2 separate regions of the Homo sapiens genome follow, and region 2 is linked to region 1. Evidence: promoter capture Hi-C in human tissues and cell types (Jung and others, 2019). All regions are on one chromosome and are shown on one strand. Each heading gives the region's core, a stretch centred on a gene start or on the middle of the fragment in contact. The rest is flanking DNA. Distances are from core to core; before and after follow the strand shown. Region 1 holds the start of SLC13A2 (solute carrier family 13 member 2). Region 2 overlaps SARM1 (sterile alpha and TIR motif containing 1).

Region 1 (4,720 bases), core at 1,001-3,500:
CTTAGAAGAGGGCTGTAGGGGGAAGCCAGAGGGTCTCAGTAAAACATTGAGTTTTGTCCCAGCTCCATCAAAGGAGACCAGAGAATGGAGGGCTGAGCCAAGGGCACAGCCTTCCTGGAAACAAATCTGCATTCTCTCTGTTACTCACAAGGTGTGTGACTCTAGACGAGTAACCTCACTGCCCTGAGCCTACATCACAGAATTGGTATGGAGAGTTAGGTAAACTGGGATGCAGATTTTACACATGGTGAAGCTGGGCCTGGTTTTTTTTTTTTTTTTTTTTTTTGTGGCTCCTTAAAAGCCTCAGGCCATGGGAGAGGCTTCCACCAAGGTGAGATAGAATCGGGGCATTGTCCTGAGTGTCTGAAACCCTTTGTCTCTCCCTGTCCTTCCTGGCTCTTGCTTACTTTGCCCTGGGCAGGTGGCAGGCCACTGTGTGGGAGTGAAGGAGCCATGCCTGAAGGGGGGCTGGGGTGGCTAGCCTGTACTCTGTTACTGTAGCATCCCACCAGCCTGGCCTCGCTCCAGGAGCCCTCGAACTGGATCCCTCTGACCTCTAGGACCGCCCTGCAGAAAGCACCAGGGGCCTTTCTCTAAAAGATCCACTGGCTCCAGGAGTGTCTCGGTGGCATAACAGCCCAGGCCATGCTATGGTACACCTAAAACTATAGTTATCAGCTCTTAATCCTGTCCCCCGCAAATCCACATTCCAACCACGCAGAACCTTCTGTTCTCTAAACGTCCCCACGCTTCTGCATCTCTTCCCAGACTGTCTTCGCTGCCTGAAACATTCTCCCTGATACCCCGCCTCCTTATCCTAGCACACACGGATCATCATACTCTGATAACCTCAGAAACATGCATTGACCTTCAACTGCGTGCAGTCAGGGTGAGGAGGGGTGAGGGCGCCAGGAGACTGAGGGTCTGGCCAGAGATAAGACCCACAATTTCTTCCAAACTACAACTTGCTCCGTTCAACATACATACACACACACACGCATGCACTTGCCACCCTCCAGGCCTTCGTTCACTCTTCCCTCTCCTTGTGCCCCTTCCCCTATCACCTCGTGCCAAGTAAGACTGAGCTCTCAAGCCTTCGCTCAGATGCCATCTCTTCCAGGAGCCCTTGCCTGGTGCCTTTCACCCAGAGCTTCTGCCCTGGTTTGGACCTCCCTCAGGATACCCATAATGCATGTGTGAATTCTGGCTGGCTCCATGTCCTTTGGCCTCAGTTCCCCCATCTGTTAAATGGAATAGTAACACCTAACCCATGGTGTAGTTACCGAGTTGATGAAGTACAGTAACTGACTTGTACTAAGTGCTGAGCAAATGTCAGTCTTTACCACCAGCAGCAGCAGCAGCATTTTAATCTCTGTATCTTTAGCACTGAGCACAGGGCTGAATACATAATTGGTACTAAATACTTGCTTGGTGGAGGGATGGATGGATGGATGGTTGGATGGATGGATGGATGGATGGATGGATGATGGATAAATGAGAGATCTAGTATGTTTCCAAAATAAGAGACAATCTTTGCTGGGGGGCGAGGGGGCTAGGAAGAGCCTGAAAGAAACTAACCTTCATCGTACACCTGCCATGCATCAAAGCTCAACATATATAAGTTGTCTAATTTGAGCCTCACAATAGCAAGATATTACTGCAGAATAAGGAAGTGGCTAATTCTGAGAGGTTAAGTCGGTGGATCAGTGTCACACAAGATGTAGTCAGGACCAGGGACTTTGATGGTCCTCGATACCTGGAAGGAGGAGGAGGAGGACTTGCTCCAGGCCTTAGCTACTGTCAATCTTAGACTGAAAATTCCTAGGGCATCTCTGTGGGCAGGGCAGGGCCACCCCACCCAGGCTGTCACATAAAGTGCTCAGCTGAGAACCTAGCTTTGGAGAACAGCAGAAAGGAAAGGCCGGGCCAGCGGAGGTGGCTTGGGGGCTGCCTGTGGAGGGTGGCTGGGGGACTCTCCTTCCTTCTCCAGCTCCTCCAGCACCACCCTCAGCAGCCTCCAAGAACAGAAGGAGTTAACGCTGGGATTAACTTCTTGAAGGAACCTGAAGTTTTTTAATCCTTGTTCTTTCCTCCTTCCTTCTCCCTCTCCCTTCCTGATCTTTACTCCGCCTGTGGGTCCCTCCTCCTTACTCTCACCTCCCCAACTCCAAAAACACTCTGATTGCCAGACTGGGTCAATGGTTAACACTCAACTGGCTTTATATAAGCCTGCCACCTGCCTGCTTGGCTGCATCTTTGGTCCTTCTGTTACCCAGCTCCTGGAGGCAGTGGCTGTAGCAGCCCTTGCTGCTCCACACCATGGCCACCTGCTGGCAGGCCCTGTGGGCCTATCGCTCCTACCTGATCGTGTTCTTCGTGCCCATTCTCCTGCTGCCTCTGCCCATCCTCGTCCCCAGTAAGGTAAGGACTTGGTGTTCTGAGCACAGATAACTCCAGGGGGCAGAGGAGGGACTGTCTGGGCCGGGGTTGGGCATCCTTAGGATCCAGCATAACTTCCTCACTGCCCCTGCCCTGGAAGTGAGGCTATCGCCCCCTGCTCCTCCTGAGGACTGAGGGCTAGGAGGTCAAAGGGGCTTTTGCTTGGCACCCAGTTGTAGGAGCCCAGCGTGAATTACTTAGGTGGGTTTGCAACCTACTGCCCTAGGAAACAGGAAACCAGTTCCATCAACAAGATGCAAGGGGGGCAGATGGAGCTGATCTACCTACTGTGTGCCCACCTAGCCCTGGACTGGGCTCCATGGCGGCTGAGATGGGCTGGCTGTGGGGAGGGGACGGCTGGGTAAGCAGCAGCAGAGTGAAGAGGGTTGGAAGGAGAATAGGAGAAAGCTGGCTGCAGGCGGTCTGCATCTTTAAGAGCATAAACAGGAAGAGAAAGAGTTCACCTGTGGATTCAAGGGCTAAGTCTGTGGAGGAGGAGGGGTGGGAGTTGGAAGAGGGGACCGCTGCAGGTAGACAGCACAAAAACTGTGCCCTGGATGGAGGGGGAGCTGGGCACAACCAGGCGTCACTGCCTCCTCCTCCGCCCCCAGCAGAAGTCATAACTTCATCTCTCATTAAATCAAGCCGCCAATGCCTGCCCTGCCCTAGGCACCCAGTAACCTTTTCCACCATCTTAAGAGGTCAGGCCTGACTGTCCCATTTGACAAATGGGGAAGGTGAGGTTAAGTCACTTAGTCAAAGTCCCAGGGCAGATCCAAGTTTCATGGAACTTGGATATTATACACTTTTGGGCCCCACTCTGTAAGAAAAAGGACACAAAAGTATTAATCTGAAATTAGTTTGGGGCTTTGGGAAGGGTCCAGGGGGAAGGCCTTGAAGTTCAATCTTCAGTCAGTCGGCCTCTGGCAAATCACACAGCTGGGAGGTTCAGAGCTGGGGGTGTGATCTGGTGCCAAAGCATGTCTTCTCTCCACCCTGCTGCCTCCTGCCCCACCCCACACCCCCAGAACTGCCCATCAAGCCATTTTCTTCCTTTTGTCATAGATAGAGAAATTGAGTCAGACTTTTTTGTTCATGGTATCCCAAAGGGGTGAGAGACTGGGGGTGATAGTGGCACAGCCCCTGGGCCCCTGACACCTGGTCAGTAACAAGGCCCAGCTGACCTTTGAGATGACCTTCATCTCAGGCCAAAGCCGGTGGCATCTCAGTGCTAGGGACCCATCAGATGGGTTTTCCGACAGGCTGGGGCAAGTGTGTTAACCCCAGGAGGGAAGCCAGACAGGGATTTTGATTTCTTCCCAATTCCCCTCGACCTGGGGAAGCACAGCACAGAAAGATTCAGTAACTTGCCCAGGTCACACAGGAAATCCTGAGTCAGTGCTAGAAGCCATGCCTGTTGGTGAGACTGGGATGTGTTAGGAGCCCCTGTCTTCTGTGCACCGTATCTGGCCCTGCTACCTGCCTCTGGCTCACAGATGCTGCCAGCCCCATCCTGACTCTGGTCCTGTCTAGGAGAGGCCAGCCCCTCTCAAGGACTTTGCTCCTGCAATTGTCCTCTCACTCTCCTACAAGATAAATATTTCCTCTCTGCCTGATCTCCCCCATCCACATACGGAGGTGCTGTAATATCTCTCATCTTAAACAAACAAGAGCTCTCTTTCAAGGCCACGCTCCTTCCAGGATAGTGCCTCTTTCTCTGCTCTCTCTCATAACAGGAAGTCTCAAGACACTGTCTACACCACAAGCGCACTTTCTCTTTTGTCAGCTCCCATCTCCAAGACTCAGATCCCATCAACTTCCTTGTGACCAAACCCTGGGCCACCCTCACATTCCTCAGTCCCTCGGCAGCATTTGTCACAGCTGTCACCCCGTCTTTGCCGTGCTGTCTTCTCTTGGCTTTGGTGACACCTTCTCCTGGTTCCTGCCCAGCCCTGCCCCTTCCCACCTTTCCTGACTCTGAGGTTCCTTCTCCATCTGACTCTGAGGTTTTCCAGGGTCCCCACTTCCCCTAGCTGATCTTATGCCATCTCGTGCTTTAAAAAGCATCTCTATGCCAATGAGTTATCAATCTGTAACCCCAGCCCTAAACTCTAAACTGGTATTATCCAATGAACACCAGCCATCTCCCTAATTGAATATTTTCTTTGTAAGCAGGATAAGCAGGTTACACTTTTCCACGTCCAAACCAAAACCCTTCCTGCCCTTCTCCAGTTGGCTTAGGCATCAAGAAATGCTTCAACCATCTACCTTGCTGCAACAG
Region 2 (4,329 bases), core at 1-2,500, 77 kb before region 1:
TGGTTATAGATTGCTACATTCCAAGGAAGATGACTTTATTACCCCCTGAGAAAGGGTGGTGATCTAAGTGGGGATCTAAGGGAGTCTTATCTCTGGTGCCATTTGGTCTTCCTAAGTAATTACAGAAAAAAAAAAAATAGGTGGAAGTTGCAGCTGCATGCCCCATGACTCAGGCTGCAGAGACCAATTCCTGTCAAGGCTCAGAATAACTTAAAGTTCCAAGAGCTTTAGGTTTGATTTAACAAAGCTTGAATAATAGTAATAAATAATATTATTAATCTCAAAATCCTGGGCTCAAGTGATCCTCCTGCCTCAGCCTCCCAAAGTGTTGGGATTACAGGCGTGACCCACCATGCCCAGCTGAATTATTTAATTTCACAGTTATAAAGGACACAGCTCAAGAATAGCCAAATGGAAGAGATACATAGGATCTCTACGTATGGAGGGTGGAGGTGTGGATGCCATGCCTTCTACCACCTTCCCAGCACCTACACCTGTTTATCAACCTGGAGGCTCTTCAAAACCCCTTGTTTGGGGGTTTTTATGGAGGTTCCATTATGTAGGCATGATTGATTAAATCATTGGCCATTGGTGATTGAACTCAATCTCCAGCACCTCTCTGGAGGCTGGGAGGTGGGGCTGAAAGTTCCAATCCTCTAGTCATGCCCTGGTCTCCCTGGTGACCAGCCCTCTTCCTGAAACTATCTAGGCTACCCCCATAGCACCCCCCGGGCCCCCAGTGGGGAATCATCTCTTTAGCATACAAAGACACTCATCACTCAAGAGATTCCAAGGGTTTTAGCAGCTCTGTGCCAGGAACTCTGGGCAAAGGAAAAATATTTATTTTTTATTACACTACAAGGGTTAAGGTAGACATCAAGGTGGACATCAGGACTGGTGTCCTGCCCTGGGCCCAGCCTCGGGCCAGTGGGCCTCCCAGCACCTGCCTGGCTACAAGGGTCCCTAGATGGGTACAGGGGTATCTTCCTCCTTTCCTTTCTTTCTCCAGGAGATTGTGACTGCTTTAAGCTGCGGCAAGAACATTGTGCCCATCATTGATGGCTTCGAGTGGCCTGAGCCCCAGGTCCTGCCTGAGGACATGCAGGCTGTGCTTACTTTCAACGGTATCAAGTGAGCCCCAGGGCCCTGGGACCAGGGGGGTAGGGTACAAATCACCATGACAGGCAGAGTGTGGGCAAACAGCTGACTAGCAGCTCCCTCTGCCCAGCTGTCTGAACCACATTGGCTCCTGTGCCCACAGGTGGTCCCACGAATACCAGGAGGCCACCATTGAGAAGATCATCCGCTTCCTGCAGGGCCGCTCCTCCCGGGACTCATCTGCAGGCTCTGACACCAGTTTGGAGGGTGCTGCACCCATGGGTCCAACCTAACCAGTCCCCAGTTCCCCAGCCCTGCTGTGACTTCCATTTCCATCGTCCTTTCTGAAGGAACAGCTCCTGAAACCAGTCTCCCTGGGCTGAGACAACCTGGGCTCTTCTTAGGAAATGGCTCTCCCTCCCCCTGTCCCCCACCCTCATGGCCCACCTCCAACCCACTTTCCTCAGTATCTGGAGAGGGAAGGGAAGTCAGGCTTGGGCACGGGAGGTTAGAACTCCCCCAGGCCCTGCCATTGGGTTGTCTGTCTCCGTCATGGGGAGGGTCCCTGCTCAGTTCTGGAGACACTGGAGTTGGGGTGGGGGTGGTTCTGCATTCCCTTCTCCTGCTGATAGCAGTCAGCTTGAGGAGGATGACGGAAGGCAGCCTCAGACAGGAATTAAGGCAATGCCCAGGCGGGCCTGGGCACTGTATTCTGAGCAAGGGCCTGGGCCCAGGAGCCAGCCAGGGATGAGTGCCATCATGGCTCTCCACTCAGACTGTGCCTGGCCCCTGCACTTACAACTTCCTGCCGCTCTGTGGCCTTGCCCTGTAATCACTCAGTGCCCTTAGCTAGCCTGACTAAGTCCCAGATCCCCTACAGCTTCCTTCGGTGTGGTATCTTTTGCCACATCCAGGGCGAGGGTTGAGGCAAACCAGCCCTCCCTCTGACTTCCTTGTCACTGCAGCCAGCTTTGCTGCACTTGCTGGTGCACAGGAGCCTCCTGTTTGGGCCTGGGTCTGGGCATGGGGAGGCCGTGCCTCAAAGCCCACCCTACCCCATGCCTTGGTGCTGTGCCTCAGGCTCCTTCCTGGTCTGGCCCAGCTGGCTTCCCCAGCCCCTCAGCCATCCAGGGCTACCCACTGCTTACTCAGGGACCAGGCAGCCCCCATGGCAGTAAAAGCAGCCTAGACAGAACCTGCAGCTCTGTGGAAAGAGGCAAAGTCCTGAAAAGGCAAAGGGTTGTCACTTAGGGCAGCTTCTCCAACTTTAACATGCATCCAAGTCACCTGGGAATGTTGTTAAAATCAGGAGATCTGGGGTGGGGCCTAGGACTCTGCATTTCTTACAGATTCCCAGGTGAGCTGATGCTGGTGGTTAAGGGTAGCAAATCTCTAAAGCACGAAGCCCTCACAAATCTTTGCCATTTCCCAAACACTCCGCTCCATGGTCTCCAGTCATCAGAGCAACTCTACCTGGTATTATCATCCCCATTTTACAGATAATGACACTGAGGCTCAGAAAGGTTGAGGATAAGCCCACTTTCCTGTCATTAGTGGCAGCCCCAGATCCAGACCTAGGCCTCCTGGCACCCAGTCCACTGGCAGTGGAATTGCTTTCCTGAGAATCATTCTGAGGCTGGGCTATTGCTTCTCCCTTGCTTCAAAGAATCTAGCAGCGGGGGATAGGATTTTGCAACAAAAAGCTGACCCAGAGGCCATACAGAGCAGGAATATCCCATTGCCCCCTCCTCCACTGGGTTCAGAGGGTAAGAAAGCACCCTCCAATAAACCCAGGCTCCAGGCCGTGGGGGCTGCTGAAGGCTCTTTCCCCGCAAGGGCCAGGTGTTGACACCTTAAAGCTGGCTGCGCCCCCAGCCCCACTCTTGGCTGTGCTGGCCAGGTGACTCCTAGTTCTTGGCCACATCATCAGAAAGTCAAAGGTCTCACTCCAGGTTTGGGGCTCCTTCCTTCCACTCCCCTCCCTGCCAGAGTCTGTCTTGGCCAGTGCCAGCCTCGATGCTTTGGTTTTGACCCCACCTGATCCTCCTTTCCTCATGCAGCACAAGTGCTCACCGGGGCCAGAGCCAGGGCATGGATATGACAAGCAGGGCAGCCTGGACACTGCCCTCACAGGACAGCGCCAATAACAATACAGTGTCTGAGTATCTCCAGGGGATGATTTCTGGCTCTTTGTCTCCAATCAGTCCCACTCCCTCCTGAGGTCCCCAAGGGCAGTATTCAGAGAGGTTTCCTGCGTTTTATTTCTATTTGGTATACCCTCCACTGTTGTCCACTGCCCTGTGTGGCCTTCTGGTTGACCTCTGCCCGATCTTCTGTCTCTCTGAGGGAATCAGAGTCCAGCATCCAGCCCCAGCTGGAACAGCTGAAGTCACAAGCCTCCTCTAAGCCAAGGCCAGTGTGTTCAGAGGTGACTGCCACCCATACTAGGACAAACACAGCTCAGATCACCAGGTCAAGCACCTAGGCCTGGCTTCTCCTGAGACAGAGGACTCAGAAGTGGCCTTTCCTCCAAAGCCTGCTCAGACACAGGTCTGTAGGGCCAGGGTGTTCTGCTTGGCTGGGCTGCAGCTGCTACCCCTCGGTTGGGGCTGAGTCAGCCAGATCCTCCCCCTACTTCTCCCCAAGGGCCAAGAACTGCTCAGGGACATTAAAGGTCAAAAGTCCAGCCACACTCATTCATCCTTTCCCCAGGCCCATGAAGAGAGGCATCTCATTGTAGAATGTATGAGGAAGTGGGAAGTATCTCAGAGAATCAGCTAAGTTTCCTAACTTGTCCATCCAAATGTGATCACCACGATTCAACAATTTGGGGCATTGCTGATCTAGCCGTTCCTAGTGGGGCTTGCTCAAGGTTGCACAGCGAGTCAGTAGAAGCCCTGGCTGGCCCCACTTGGTACCAATCCACCAGGCAGCTCAGGGCTCCTGCCCAGCCCAGCAGCTTCTGTTGTCTAACGTATGGCAGGCAGACTGGGAGCAGGAAAACAGAGGGCCCCAAAGCCCAAGGCACCAGAAGGTTTGTTTCAGTTTGCTGAAGCTGATTTGTAATGATTGGCACTCTTCAGCCAGGGGAGTGGGTAGGCCATAGCCAAGGATCGATTCCCCAACCACAGCAAAGGCAACACTCTTCCTCCAGAGATCACCAAGCCCCTCTTACCTCCCTCCCTCCTTCCCAAGGCTGGCACTAACCAGGTACCACATTCATTGTTAAGG

What was found. Contacts are between HindIII fragments. The study calls those that stand out against the background at their distance.
Region 2: a contact is called between a fragment that was not itself captured here and the fragment with the promoter of SLC13A2 in region 1, in 8 of the 25 tissues and cell types used here (IMR-90 fibroblasts, aorta, dorsolateral prefrontal cortex and 5 more).

The regions. Positions count from the first base shown.
Region 1 is chr17:28,471,394-28,476,113 of GRCh38, forward strand. SLC13A2 (solute carrier family 13 member 2) reads left to right here and starts at 2,251. Exons shown (of 12, transcript NM_003984.4): 1 at 2,251-2,421. The coding sequence starts at 2,320. The HindIII fragment of the contact is 27,138 bases long and covers 1-4,720 here.
Region 2 is chr17:28,394,896-28,399,224 of GRCh38, forward strand. It overlaps SARM1 (sterile alpha and TIR motif containing 1), which reads left to right. Exons shown (of 9, transcript NM_015077.4): 8 at 1,010-1,131; 9 at 1,262-4,329. The coding sequence ends at 1,391. SLC46A1 (solute carrier family 46 member 1) reads right to left here. Exons shown (of 5, transcript NM_080669.6): 5 at 1-4,329. Among named protein-coding and RNA genes, the nearest start is that of SLC46A1, 9.2 kb to the right of the region's middle. RefSeq lists enhancers at 786-1,469, 2,153-2,836, 3,601-3,690. The HindIII fragment of the contact is 9,060 bases long and covers 1-4,329 here.